Linked DNA regions of Homo sapiens: regions 1, 3 and 4 are each linked to region 2. The links are contacts of gene promoters, found by promoter capture Hi-C in human tissues and cell types (Jung and others, 2019). All regions are on one chromosome and are shown on one strand. The core of a region is centred on a gene start or on the middle of the fragment in contact, and the rest is flanking DNA. Distances in the headings are between cores, read along the strand shown. Region 1 overlaps DTNB (dystrobrevin beta). Region 2 holds the start of POMC (proopiomelanocortin). Region 3 overlaps CENPO (centromere protein O). Region 4 overlaps DTNB (dystrobrevin beta).

Region 1 (2,700 bases), core at 46-2,545, 340 kb before region 2:
ACTAGGAATTAAAAAAAAAATAGAAACCTCAATTAGATAAGGTAAATATCAGATTAGATTTAGAGATTATAAACCTACAGATAATTGGAATTCCAGAAGGACAAAATAAAAAAAATTCTTGGTAAGGCCAAAAGATAATGAATGGAAATTGTCCCAAGTTCATAGCAGTGGTCAACAAATCTTAATTAAGAATCTAGGCCGGGCATGGTGGCTCATGCCTGTAATCCCAGCACTTTGAGAGGTCAAGGTGGGCAGATCACTTGAGGTCAGGCGTTCGAGACCAGGCTGGCCAACATGGTGAAGCCCCATCTCTACTAAAAATACAAAAATTAGCCAGGTGTGGTGATGCGTGCCTGTAGTCCCAGCTACTTGGGAGACTGAAGCACAAGAATCACTTGAACCCAAGAGATGGAGGTTGCAATTGAGCTGAGATCGCACCACTGCACTCCAGCCTAGGCGACAGAGCAACACTCTGTCTCAAAAAAAAAAAAAAAAAAAAAGAATCTAAAAGAAAATTCATACCTACACACATCATAGTAAAGCTAGAGGACCCCAGAGACAAAGAAAAGATACTAAAAACAAATAGAAGATTATTTACAAAGAATTGACAATTTCACAGAGAGCTGACTTCTGAAGAGCAACATTAGAAACCAAAGGAGAGTGGAATACGATCTTCCAAGAACTGAGAGGAAAATAATAATCCTAAAATTGTATACCCAGTGAGAAAATACCTGTCAAGAAAGGCAAAGACAAAAACATTTGCAGATGAATAAAAATGCTCACTACTAAAGGAACCTCGCTAAAGGAATTTGTAAAGGGTATGTTTCGAGGAGAAGGAAAATGATCTTAGGCATTTGACAAAATTCAACCCTCAATTCACATTTTTAAAAACTCTCAGAAAGTTAGGAATAGAGGGTACCTTCTCAATCTGAAAATGCACATCTATGAAAAACCTACCTAGCTACCATCATACTTAATGTTAAAAGACTGAACATTTTACCTTAATATTGGGAACAATGCAAGAATGTCACTCTTAGTGCATCTATTCAGCATTTTACTAGTGATCCTAGCTAGTGCAGTAATACGAGAAAAAGAAATTAAAGGCATTCAGATCGAAAAGGAAATATTAAAATTTTCTTTATTCATAGATGACGTGATTGTGTACATAGAAAATGCTAAGGAATCTACAAAGCAAAGTACTAGAACTAACAAAGTTAGCAGTATTGCAGGACATAGATCACTTTAAAAAAATCAGTGGCATTTCTGTATATTAGCAGCAATTAGGAAATGAAATTTTAAAAAGCAATACCATTTATAATAGCATTGAGAAACATAACGTAGGAATACATATAATGAAATATGTGCAAGATGTGTAAACTAAATACTACAAAGTATTGCTGAAAGAAATTTTAGGGCCGGGTGCAGTGGCTCACGCCTATAATCCCAGCACTTTGGGAGGCTGAGGTGGGTGGATCACCCGAAGTTGGGAGTTTGAGACCAGCCTGACCAACATGGAGAAACCCTGTCTCTACTAAAAATAAAAAATTAGCCCGGCGTGGTGGTGCACACCTGTAATCCCAGTTTCTCGGCAGGCTGAGGTGGGAGTATCGCTTGAACCCGGGAGGCGGAGGTTGTGGTGAGCCAAGATCATGACGTTGCACTCCAGTGTGGGCAACAAGAGCGAAACTCCATCTCAAAAAAATAAAAAACAAAGAGCGAAACTCCATCTCAAAAAAAAAAAAACAAACAAAAAAGAAATGTTAAAAGCCCTAAATAAATGAAGAGGTATACCATATTTATAAATTGGAAGGCCAGTGGTATACCTAGCATATTTGACATTCAGAATGGATCATATTTAACAGCCCTTTCCTTTATATGTCAAAATTGTTAGTAATTATCATGAAATGAAACAGATAATTACTGATTCCTGCTTTTGTCTTATTATTCCTTTCGTTATCTTCAGATTTTCTCTGTTTATCAGTCATTCAGCAAATATTTATTGGGCACTTAATATGTTCCAGGCCTCACTTAAAGAAAAACAGACAAAACAATCTTTGCTCTCATGAAGCTTGTTTTTTAGTGGTGGGAAACAGGCAAAAATCTTAATAAATAAATAAATTATATATTAGAAGGTAATAAGTGCTATATAGAACAGCAAAATAGGGAAAGAGGGATGGGCAGTATTGGAGGTCTAGTGGGTTGCCATTTTTAATAATTGCTTTAGGCCTTAATGAAAAGTGACATTTGAACATCAGCTTGAAGGAGGTGATGGAGTTACCCTTTTGGGTATCTGGAGGAAGAGCATTCCTTGCCAAAGGAACAGGCTGGGCAAAGGCCCTGCAGCCAAAGCATACCTAGCATGTTTAAGGAACATCAAAAAGCTGGTAGAGGGGGAGTTAAATTAGCAAGAGGGAAATGAAATCAAAGATATTATGAGGGCTAGATGGTAGAGGGTCTTATATGCCATTGTAAGGACTAAGTGACAAGAGGATGTGTTTGGATTGCTTTGACTGATCTGACTTCCATTTTAAAAGGATGTTCTTTCTGGCCGCTGTAGAGAATAGACTAAAGCAGAGTCAGGATGGAAGGAAGGAGTCAGCTTTTGAAAAAGGTGAGAGGAAGACTTGGGTGGACGAGGTGGATAACAGTAGAGGTAATAAGAGGTGATAAGATACACGAACATTGGATGTACTTAGGGCA
Region 2 (2,822 bases), core at 81-2,580:
TGGATGGGCTACATCTTGATGTGAGTCAAGCTCCTGGATGGCTGGAGAGAGGAAGGATGTTCTAGTTGGGGGAACAGCTTGGACAATGGAGACCCAAGAAAGCCATGTTCTAGCAGTGTGAATGTTGTGGATGCTGAAGTGCCAGGATGCAAGGTGGAGAACTGGGAAATGGCCCTGGAAAGGGGCCAAAGCCGGGTGATGAAGCACCTTGTCTACTGTGACGGAGCTTGGATCTCTCTTGTGGTCCAAAGGGAAAGGATTGCTGAATGTAAAGCCAATGTCACCAGAAAAGCTGAATCCACAAGAGAGTCCTGGAGTCCAAAAGAGCATCTCATGGGGAATCAGGAAAGTTCTGGCATTTGGCAGATTAAGCAAGTGTCTTGATTTGAAGTCCAGTTTAGTCCCAATACTCCCTCCCACACCCACCACATCGCACAATTTGGTTTTGTTTATTTACTCCAGGTTAAGGTAGAGTCTCTTAGCTTGGTTTGAGTGCTGTACTCTTCTCTCTGGTCTGATATTTGGAACTAAAGCCAAGCCAGAACTCCAGGGCCAAGGGGGATGTTGAAAATTGTCTGAGTCCCCAGACCACCCTGCCAGCTCATGGCAAAGGGAGGGATCAGAGGCCACAGGGAAAGCACTTCAGCTGCTCTTCACAGCATCACCCTCTCCCCATTTAATGGTTTAGGTTAACAGGACTTTTTCCTTGAGGCTTGGGACACGGAAGGGAGCCTCCCCTAAACCAGGCCCTTGGAGAGCAGGCCCCAGGGGAGCAGTGCAACTCACCTTCACACCCACAAGACGGCTCCTGACTTCTGCTCCCTCCTCCCCTCCCCAAAGTGGAACAGAGAGAATATGATTCCCCACGACTTCCACATCACAGTTTCCAAACAATGGGGAAATCGGAGGCCTCCCCGTGTGCAGACGGTGATATTTACCGCCAAATGCGAACCAGGCAGATGCCAGCCCCAGCACGCACGCAGGTAACTTCACCCTCGCCTCAACGACCTCAGAGGCTGCCCGGCCTGCCCCACACGGGGGTGCTAAGCCTCCCGCCCGTTCTAAGCGGAGACCCAACGCCATCCATAATTAAGTTCTTCCTGAGGGCGAGCGGCCAGGTGCGCCTTCGGCAGGACAGTGCTAATTCCAGCCCCTTTCCAGCGCGTCTCCCCGCGCTCGTCCCCCGTCTGGAAGCCCCCCTCCCACGCCCCGCGGCCCCCCTTCCCCTGGCCCGGGGAGCTGCTCCTTGTGCTGCCGGGAAGGTCAAAGTCCCGCGCCCACCAGGAGAGCTCGGCAAGTATATAAGGACAGAGGAGCGCGGGACCAAGCGGCGGCGAAGGAGGGGAAGAAGAGCCGCGACCGAGAGAGGCCGCCGAGCGTCCCCGCCCTCAGAGAGCAGCCTCCCGAGACAGGTAAGGGCGCAGCGTGGGGGACCCGTGCTCTTTCCCCGGGATCCCCTGTCCCCGTCCTCGCGATGCAGTCGGCCGGCTCCGGCTCCGAAGGCGGACCTGGGCGCCTCTGGCTCTCCGCGGTCCCGAGTTCTCGACAAACTTTCTGCGCCGACTGCGGCATGAGAAGCCGCCAGTAGCTGAGCTGGAGGGCCCACGTCCGGCCCCTGGGCGGACGGCCGCGAAGCTGCAGGCGCTGTCTCCAGGGAGCCGGCGGCCTCCTCTCCCCCAGGGGCTCGCGGCGGTCCGGAGGCTCCGAGAGCTTGCTAGGAGGTCTTGGGACAACCCGGTCTTTTTTTTTTTTTTTGAGACGGAGTTTCGCTCTTGTTGCCCATGCTGGAGAGCAAAGGGGTGATCTCTGCTCACCGCAACCTTCGCCTCCCGGGTTCAAGCGATTCTCCTGCTTCAGCCTCCCGAGTAGCTGGGATTACAGGCATGCGCCACCACGCCCGGCTAATTTTTGTATTTTTAGTAGAGACGGAGTTTCTCCATGTTGGTCAGGCTGGTCTCAAACTCCCGACAACAGGTGATCCGCCCGCCTTGGCCCCCCAAAGTTCTGGCATTACAGGCGCGAGCCACCGCCCCCGGCCAGCCCGGTCTTTTAGTATCTCTTGCTCCCAGTTTCCAGGATAGGTGTCACATCTTGAAAGTCAAATTCCATACACGCTATCGCAAATTAATGTTGGAAACGGGGCAGCAGAGAAAAGGATAAAAGTCATAATGAACGCCCTGCCTTCCGGATTTTTTCGGATTCAGACCCCTGAATCCTTGTTTCCTTGCCCACCTTAGCGCACCCGAGGTGGCCGCGCTATGATAATTACATGATAACTGGGTCAATTACAATGCAGAATAGTTGGGTCTCTTCTCTCCAAGACCTAGCTGGGGTTAAAAACAGGTGGCCGGGGCGGGAGCTGTCCTAGATCCTGAAACGCACTGTCTAGTTTCGGATGCCCTCAACAGAACCGGGGTGGACGGTTTATGGCGCAGATCCTGGGTTGAGGGCACGGGCAGCCATTTGGAATGATCAAGGCTCAGGTAAGGGGCGTTTCCAGCGAAGGAGAGACAGTCCACTTGGCATTTGGATTCCCCAAATTCTTCATGTTTAAATGGGGCAGGGAGGGTTCTTACAGAATGGCTGGAAGGAGCCAAGGAAAATAAAAGTGTGTGTGGATTTTTTTTGTGTGTGTGTCAGTTTATAAACTCTGCACAGATTATGGCCACTTTAATGACTTACTGTTCCTTTGATGCTTTTGTTATAGGACTCGATGCATGTATGTCATGGTGTAAGGACAAAACTCGGCCCCTGTGCTCCTCTAATCTTTACAAAAGGTCATGGCCAGCGTGCAGTTTTACAGTAACAAGCAAAATGATTTG
Region 3 (2,704 bases), core at 188-2,687, 360 kb after region 2:
AGTATACTCATAAAATAGAATTGCTATTCAGCAATAAAAAAAATGAGCACTATAAGCAGAGTGTAGGTGAATCTCACAGTCAGAACATTCAGCAAAAGAAGCCAGACATAAGAGTTTGTACTTTTTAAGCTATAAATTAGCTTTTTAACATTTATATAAAGTTCAAAATCAGGTAAAACCTATGTATGGTGACAGAAATCAGAATAGTGGGTACCTTAAGAGAAGACTTAAGAGAAGACTAGGAAGAGGCAAACTGGAGGCTTCTGGGTGTTGGTAATGCTCTATACTTTAATCTCTGTCATAGTGCACTTCATATATATTACACTTTAATTAAAAAAAAAGAACGGAAGAAGGGAGGAAGGAAGAGAGGTACAGGTGGAAAAGGAAGAGGGGGAGGAAGGCTGATATCCAATGGGCAATGAAGGGTTGTTGACGGCTTTTGAGCAGAGCAATGGTGCGGTGTTTCATGAAGCATTTTCTTGGCTGTGCAGGATTTATTGGAAAAGCAGAAATACTAGAAGATGCACCAACTGGCAGACTACTGTCATAATCCTGATATCCAAATCACCTGATATTTACTCCATATATGACTAATATTTGAGCTGTGGCAATGGAGGAAGGACAAAGGCAATATAAAAGAAAAATCTGATAGGTCTTGCTGACTGAACCTAGGCTAGAGAGAAAACTGAAAAAAGGGAAGGGTCAAGCTCCCTAGGAGGTTGAGTCTGGATGACAGATGTCAAAAATGACACAAGTATCAACAACTCAAGGCAGGCCACTTTAAGTATTGGTAAAAATGCAAAACAAGGGAAATCTTATACAACTATTGCTGGGAATGTAAAACTAGTACAATCACTTTCAAAAACTGGCAGTATTTACTAAACCGAATATGCATATCCTATGACTCAGCAATTCTACCAGGCATATACCCAATATGTATATGATTGAGGTAACAAACTTAGGTGTTTATTAGGGCAGGTTAAGAACCTGTCAGGAAGAACTTGCCTGGCTTACCAGTAGTGCCTGACAAATGTTAGGTGAGGGGGTGGAGCCAAGATGGCCGAATAGGAACAGCCCCAGTCTACAGCTCCCAGCGTGAGCAACGCAGAAGACGGGTGATTTCCGCATTTCCAACTGAGGTACCAGGTTCATCTCTCTGGGAAGTGTCGGACCGTGGGTGCAGGACAGTGGTTGCAGCACACCGAGTGTGAGCCAAAGCAGGGCGAGGCATCGCCTCACCCAGGAAGCGCAAGGGGTCAGGGAGTTCCCTTTCCTAGTCAAAGAAAGGGGTGACAGACGGCACCTGGAAAATCGGGTCACTCCCACCCCAATACTGCGCTTTTCCAACGGTCTTAGCAAACGGCACACCAGGAGATTATATCCCGCGCCTGGCTCAGAGGGTCCTACGCCCACAGAGCCTGCTCATTGCTAGCACAACAGGCTGAGATCAAACTGCAAGGCAGCAGCAAGGCTGGGGGAGGGGCGCCCGCCCTTGCCGAGGCTTGGATAGGTAAACAAAGCAGCCTGGAAGCTCGAACTGGGTGGAGCCCACTGCAGCTCAAGGAGGCCTGCCTGCCTCTGTAGACTCCACCTCTGGGGGCAGGGCATAGCAAAACAAAAGGCAGCAGAAAACTCTGCAGACTTAAATGTCCCTGTCTGATAGTTTGAAGAGAGTAGTGGTTCTCCCAGCACGCAGCTGGAGGTCTGAGAACAGACAGACTGCCTCCTCAAGTGGGTCCCTGACCCCCGAGTAGCCTAACTGGGAGGCATCCCCCAGTAGAGGCAGACTGACACCTCACACAGCTGGGTACTCCTCTGAGACAAAACTTCCAGAGGAACGATCAGGCAGCAGCATTTGCTGTTCACCAACATTCGCTGCTCTGCAACCTCCGCTGCTGATACCCAGGCAAACAGCGTCTGGAGTGGACCTCCAGCAAAATCCAACAGACCTGCAGCTGAGGGTCCCGACTGTTAGAAGGAAAACTAACAAACAGAAAGGACATCCACACCAAAACCCCATCTGTACGTCACTATCATCAAAGACCAAAGGTAGATAAAACCACAAAGATGGGGAAAAAACAGAGCAGAAAAACTGGAAACTCTAAAAATCAGAGCGCCTCTCCTCCTCCAAAGGAACGCAGCTCCTCACCAGCAATGGAACAAAGCTGGACGGAGAATGACTTTGACGAGTTGAGAGAAGACAGCTTCAGACGATCAAACTACTCCGAGCTACAGGAGGAAGTTCGAACCCATGGCAAAGAAGTTAAAAACCTTGAAAAAAATTACACGAATGGCTAACTAGAATAACCAATGCAGAGAAGTCCTTAAAGGACCTGATGGAGCTGAAAACCATGGCGTGAGACCCACGTGACGAATGCACAAGCCTCAGTAGCCGATTCGATCAACTGGAAGAAAGGGCATCAGTGATGGAAGATGAAATGAATGAAATGAAGCAAGAAGAGAAGTTTAGAGAAAAAAGAATAAAAAGAAACGAACAAAGCCTCCAAGAAATATGGGACTATGTGAAAAGACCAAATCTACGTCTGATAGGTGTACCTGAAAGTGATGGGGAGAATGGAACCAAGTTGGAAAACACTCTGCAGGATATTATCCAGGAGAACTTCCCCAAACTAGCAAGGCAGGCCAATATTCATATTCAGGAACTACAGAGAACGCCACAAAGATACTCCTTGAGAAGAGCAAC
Region 4 (2,727 bases), core at 21-2,520, 430 kb before region 2:
ATGTAAAAATAAGTCCAAACGCTGAGAAGTTCAAAGTTGGTACCCTGACTTATGGCTGTCCTCACAGACTTCACTTCTTCCCGTCTTTCTTCTGCCATATGGCCTTCGTCCTTAGGATCAAAAGATGTTTGCCATATCCCAGGCCTCTGTACTTACTCCAGGCAGAAGGAAGAAAGAGTTGCCTCTATGAAGAAAGCAAAGGGTTTTCCAGACATCTACTCCAGCATTGCAATGTGCAAAGGAGGCTGAGAAGTCATTCGTTAAGTGGCACATAGTCATTCCCAGCAGTCGGGCTCAGCTAGTGAGCGAGAAGGGGAAGAAGATACTGAGGCACCTGGCAGTGTCTGCCACCTCCCATGTTGACCCTTTGTTTTCATTCAGATTCAATGAACGATTATTTTCCTCCTTGTAAGACTAGCAGCTATTTATTTATTTTTGAGATAGGGTCTTGCTCTGTTACCCAGGCTGGAGTGTAGTGGTATGATCAGAGCTCACTGCAGCCCCCAACTTCTGCACTCAAGCGGTCCTCCCCCTTCAGTCTCCTGAGTAGCTGGGAGTACAGGCACCTGCCACCATGCCTAGCTAATTTTTTTTATTTTTTGTAGAGACAAGGTCCTGCTATCTTGCCCAGGCTGGCCTTGAACTCCTGGGCTCAAGCGATTCTCCTCTGCCTGGGCCTCCCAAAGTTCTGGGATTACAGGTGTGAGCCACCACGCCTGACCAGCAGCCAGCTATTTAAAGGTTAAATCATTTATGTTCTTCCCTCCTTTGAAGAGCATCATTTATTCATATCATTGGTAACATTTTCAAAGTTCTCTATCTGCAGTCTAGAACTGTGGTCAAATATTGTTTCTAACTGTCTGCATGGTAGTTCCACTTAAAAATTTGCTAGTTTGGGCCAGACACTGTGGCTCACACTTGTAATCCCAGCACTTTGGGAAGCCGAGGCGTGCATCACGAGATCAGGAGATTGAGACCATCCTGGCTAACACGGTGAAACCCCGTCTCTACTAAAAATACAAAAAATTAGCTGGGCATGGTGGCGGGCGCCTGTAGTCCCAGCTACTCAGGAGGCTGAGGCAGGAGAATGGTGTGAACCCAGGAGGTGGAGCTTGCAGTGAGCCAAGATCACACCACTGCACTCCAGCCTGGGCAACAAAGTGAGACCCCGTCTAAAAAAAAAAAAAATTGCTAGTTAGTTCAAACAGTAATGTTCAAAGCTAAGTGTAATATCTTTATCTTTGATTTGCTTATGTCAATCAGGATTTGTCATCATTTCCCCAAACTAGAAACTTAAAATAATCCTAACTTTTAAACTTCCTTTATTCCGTAATCTAGTTTGCCATCAACTGCAGTTCCTTGCATTGAAATGCCTTGGACTTGGCCTCCCCTGTCCCCGCACACACTGTCACTGCTGTAATCCAGGCTCCCCCACAACCTCCTTTGTGCATTGTTTACAAGGTTTCCTAGCTGGTGTCTCCAATTCCATTCTTTTTCTTTTATTCATTGTGTGCCGGTCATTAACAGTCTAATTGCCTTGAAACCTAGCTTTCTAAAAATTTGATCTCTACTTAAAAGTTTTTAAGCTAAATCCAGATTGCTTCCCTCTTTCATCGTTTTCTTTTATAACAGAAATACTCTTCCTATTCAGTCTTTATTTTTCTTTTTTTCTCACTATAAATTGGCTGTTGTAGAATTTTTTCTTCAATACCCTGTTTCCTGCTTATCACCGGTAAGAGATACAGGCTGCATGCTCCTGTCATAGACTTTTATCCTACTCTTCTTTAGTGCCCCCCAGTCCCTATCCTCAACCTGTTTTGACCCCATCATTCCAGATCCTCTCTTTCAAGGCCTAGCTTCCAAATGTCTTTATTTTAGAACTTGACAATTCCTGCTTATGTGTTTTTGTATCTATTCTAAATTATATTTTGAAGGAGTGTGGTGTAATGGTATTTATTTTGGAGTCAGATAGGTGTGGTTTTAAACTTGATTTGGCCTCTGAACTTTTTGACCTTAAGCAAGTTAACCTTTCTAAGCTGTAATAGTAGAGTAATGCTTAGTGTTAGAGTTTGTTGCATGAGAGCAAAAACCCGGAATAACAGTATCGTAAACAAAGTTGAGGTTTAATTTTCTCTCACATAAAAGAAGTCCAGAGGTGGGTAGTCCAGGGCCAGTATGGTAACTTCATGTTCATCTGGGATTCACACTTTGTCTTTTTTTTCCCCTACCATTCTAGAGTGATTTCTATATCAAGATTGAGATTACCACATAGTGCAAGATGGCAGCTGGAGCTCCAGCTATCATAGCTGCACTCCAGGTAGAAGAAGGAGGAAGGGAATAAGGAACAAGTGGCCTGCTTTTTTGGCTCAGTTAGGTTTGTTTACCTAGTCTTCTGGAAGTCCCCTACAACCCTTCTGCTTACAAGCTCATTTTAGCTAGAAGTTAGTCACATGACCGCTACTTGCTGGGAACTTGCAACTTGTTAGTTGGTACATTACTGCACAAAATAAAATTAGTGTTCTGTTACTAAGGAAGAAGAGGATAATGTGGCTACTGGCAGCTCAGCATAGTTAACTGAAGTGGCGCCTAGCACATGGTGGGGCTTATCATGTATCTTTTTGCCTCTGTTTTTTCTGTTGTCAGCTCAAATTCTTCTCTGTTTCATGTGTATCTTATTTTTCCAGCTACATTGAAAGTTTCTTGGGGGATAAGGACCATTTGTCATCT

Evidence for each region. The method cuts DNA at HindIII sites, captures the fragments that hold promoters and counts their contacts. A contact is called where the count stands out against the background at its distance.
Region 1: a fragment that was not itself captured here is called in contact with the fragment with the promoter of POMC in region 2 in 1 of the 25 tissues and cell types used here (adrenal gland).
Region 3: a fragment that was not itself captured here is called in contact with the fragment with the promoter of POMC in region 2 in 1 of the 25 tissues and cell types used here (aorta).
Region 4: a contact is called between a fragment that was not itself captured here and the fragment with the promoter of POMC in region 2, in 1 of the 25 tissues and cell types used here (lymphoblastoid cells).

The regions. Positions count from the first base shown.
Region 1 is chr2:25,507,547-25,510,246 of GRCh38, reverse strand. All of the region lies in intron 9 of DTNB (dystrobrevin beta), which reads left to right. Among named protein-coding and RNA genes, the nearest start is that of DTNB-AS1, 88 kb to the right of the region's middle. The HindIII fragment of the contact is 4,673 bases long and covers 1-2,700 here.
Region 2 is chr2:25,167,088-25,169,909 of GRCh38, reverse strand. POMC (proopiomelanocortin) reads left to right here and starts at 1,330. Exons shown (of 3, transcript NM_000939.4): 1 at 1,330-1,412. RefSeq lists cis regulatory regions at 1,028-1,053, 1,054-1,227, 1,293-1,305, an enhancer at 1,214-1,233 and a promoter at 644-1,456. The HindIII fragment of the contact is 18,073 bases long and covers 1-2,822 here.
Region 3 is chr2:24,804,809-24,807,512 of GRCh38, reverse strand. The region is part of intron 3 of CENPO (centromere protein O); the gene reads right to left. Among named protein-coding and RNA genes, the nearest start is that of CENPO, 13 kb to the right of the region's middle. The HindIII fragment of the contact is 4,865 bases long and covers 1-2,704 here.
Region 4 is chr2:25,597,808-25,600,534 of GRCh38, reverse strand. The region is part of intron 5 of DTNB (dystrobrevin beta); the gene reads left to right. Among named protein-coding and RNA genes, the nearest start is that of DTNB, 74 kb to the left of the region's middle. The HindIII fragment of the contact is 7,124 bases long and covers 1-2,727 here.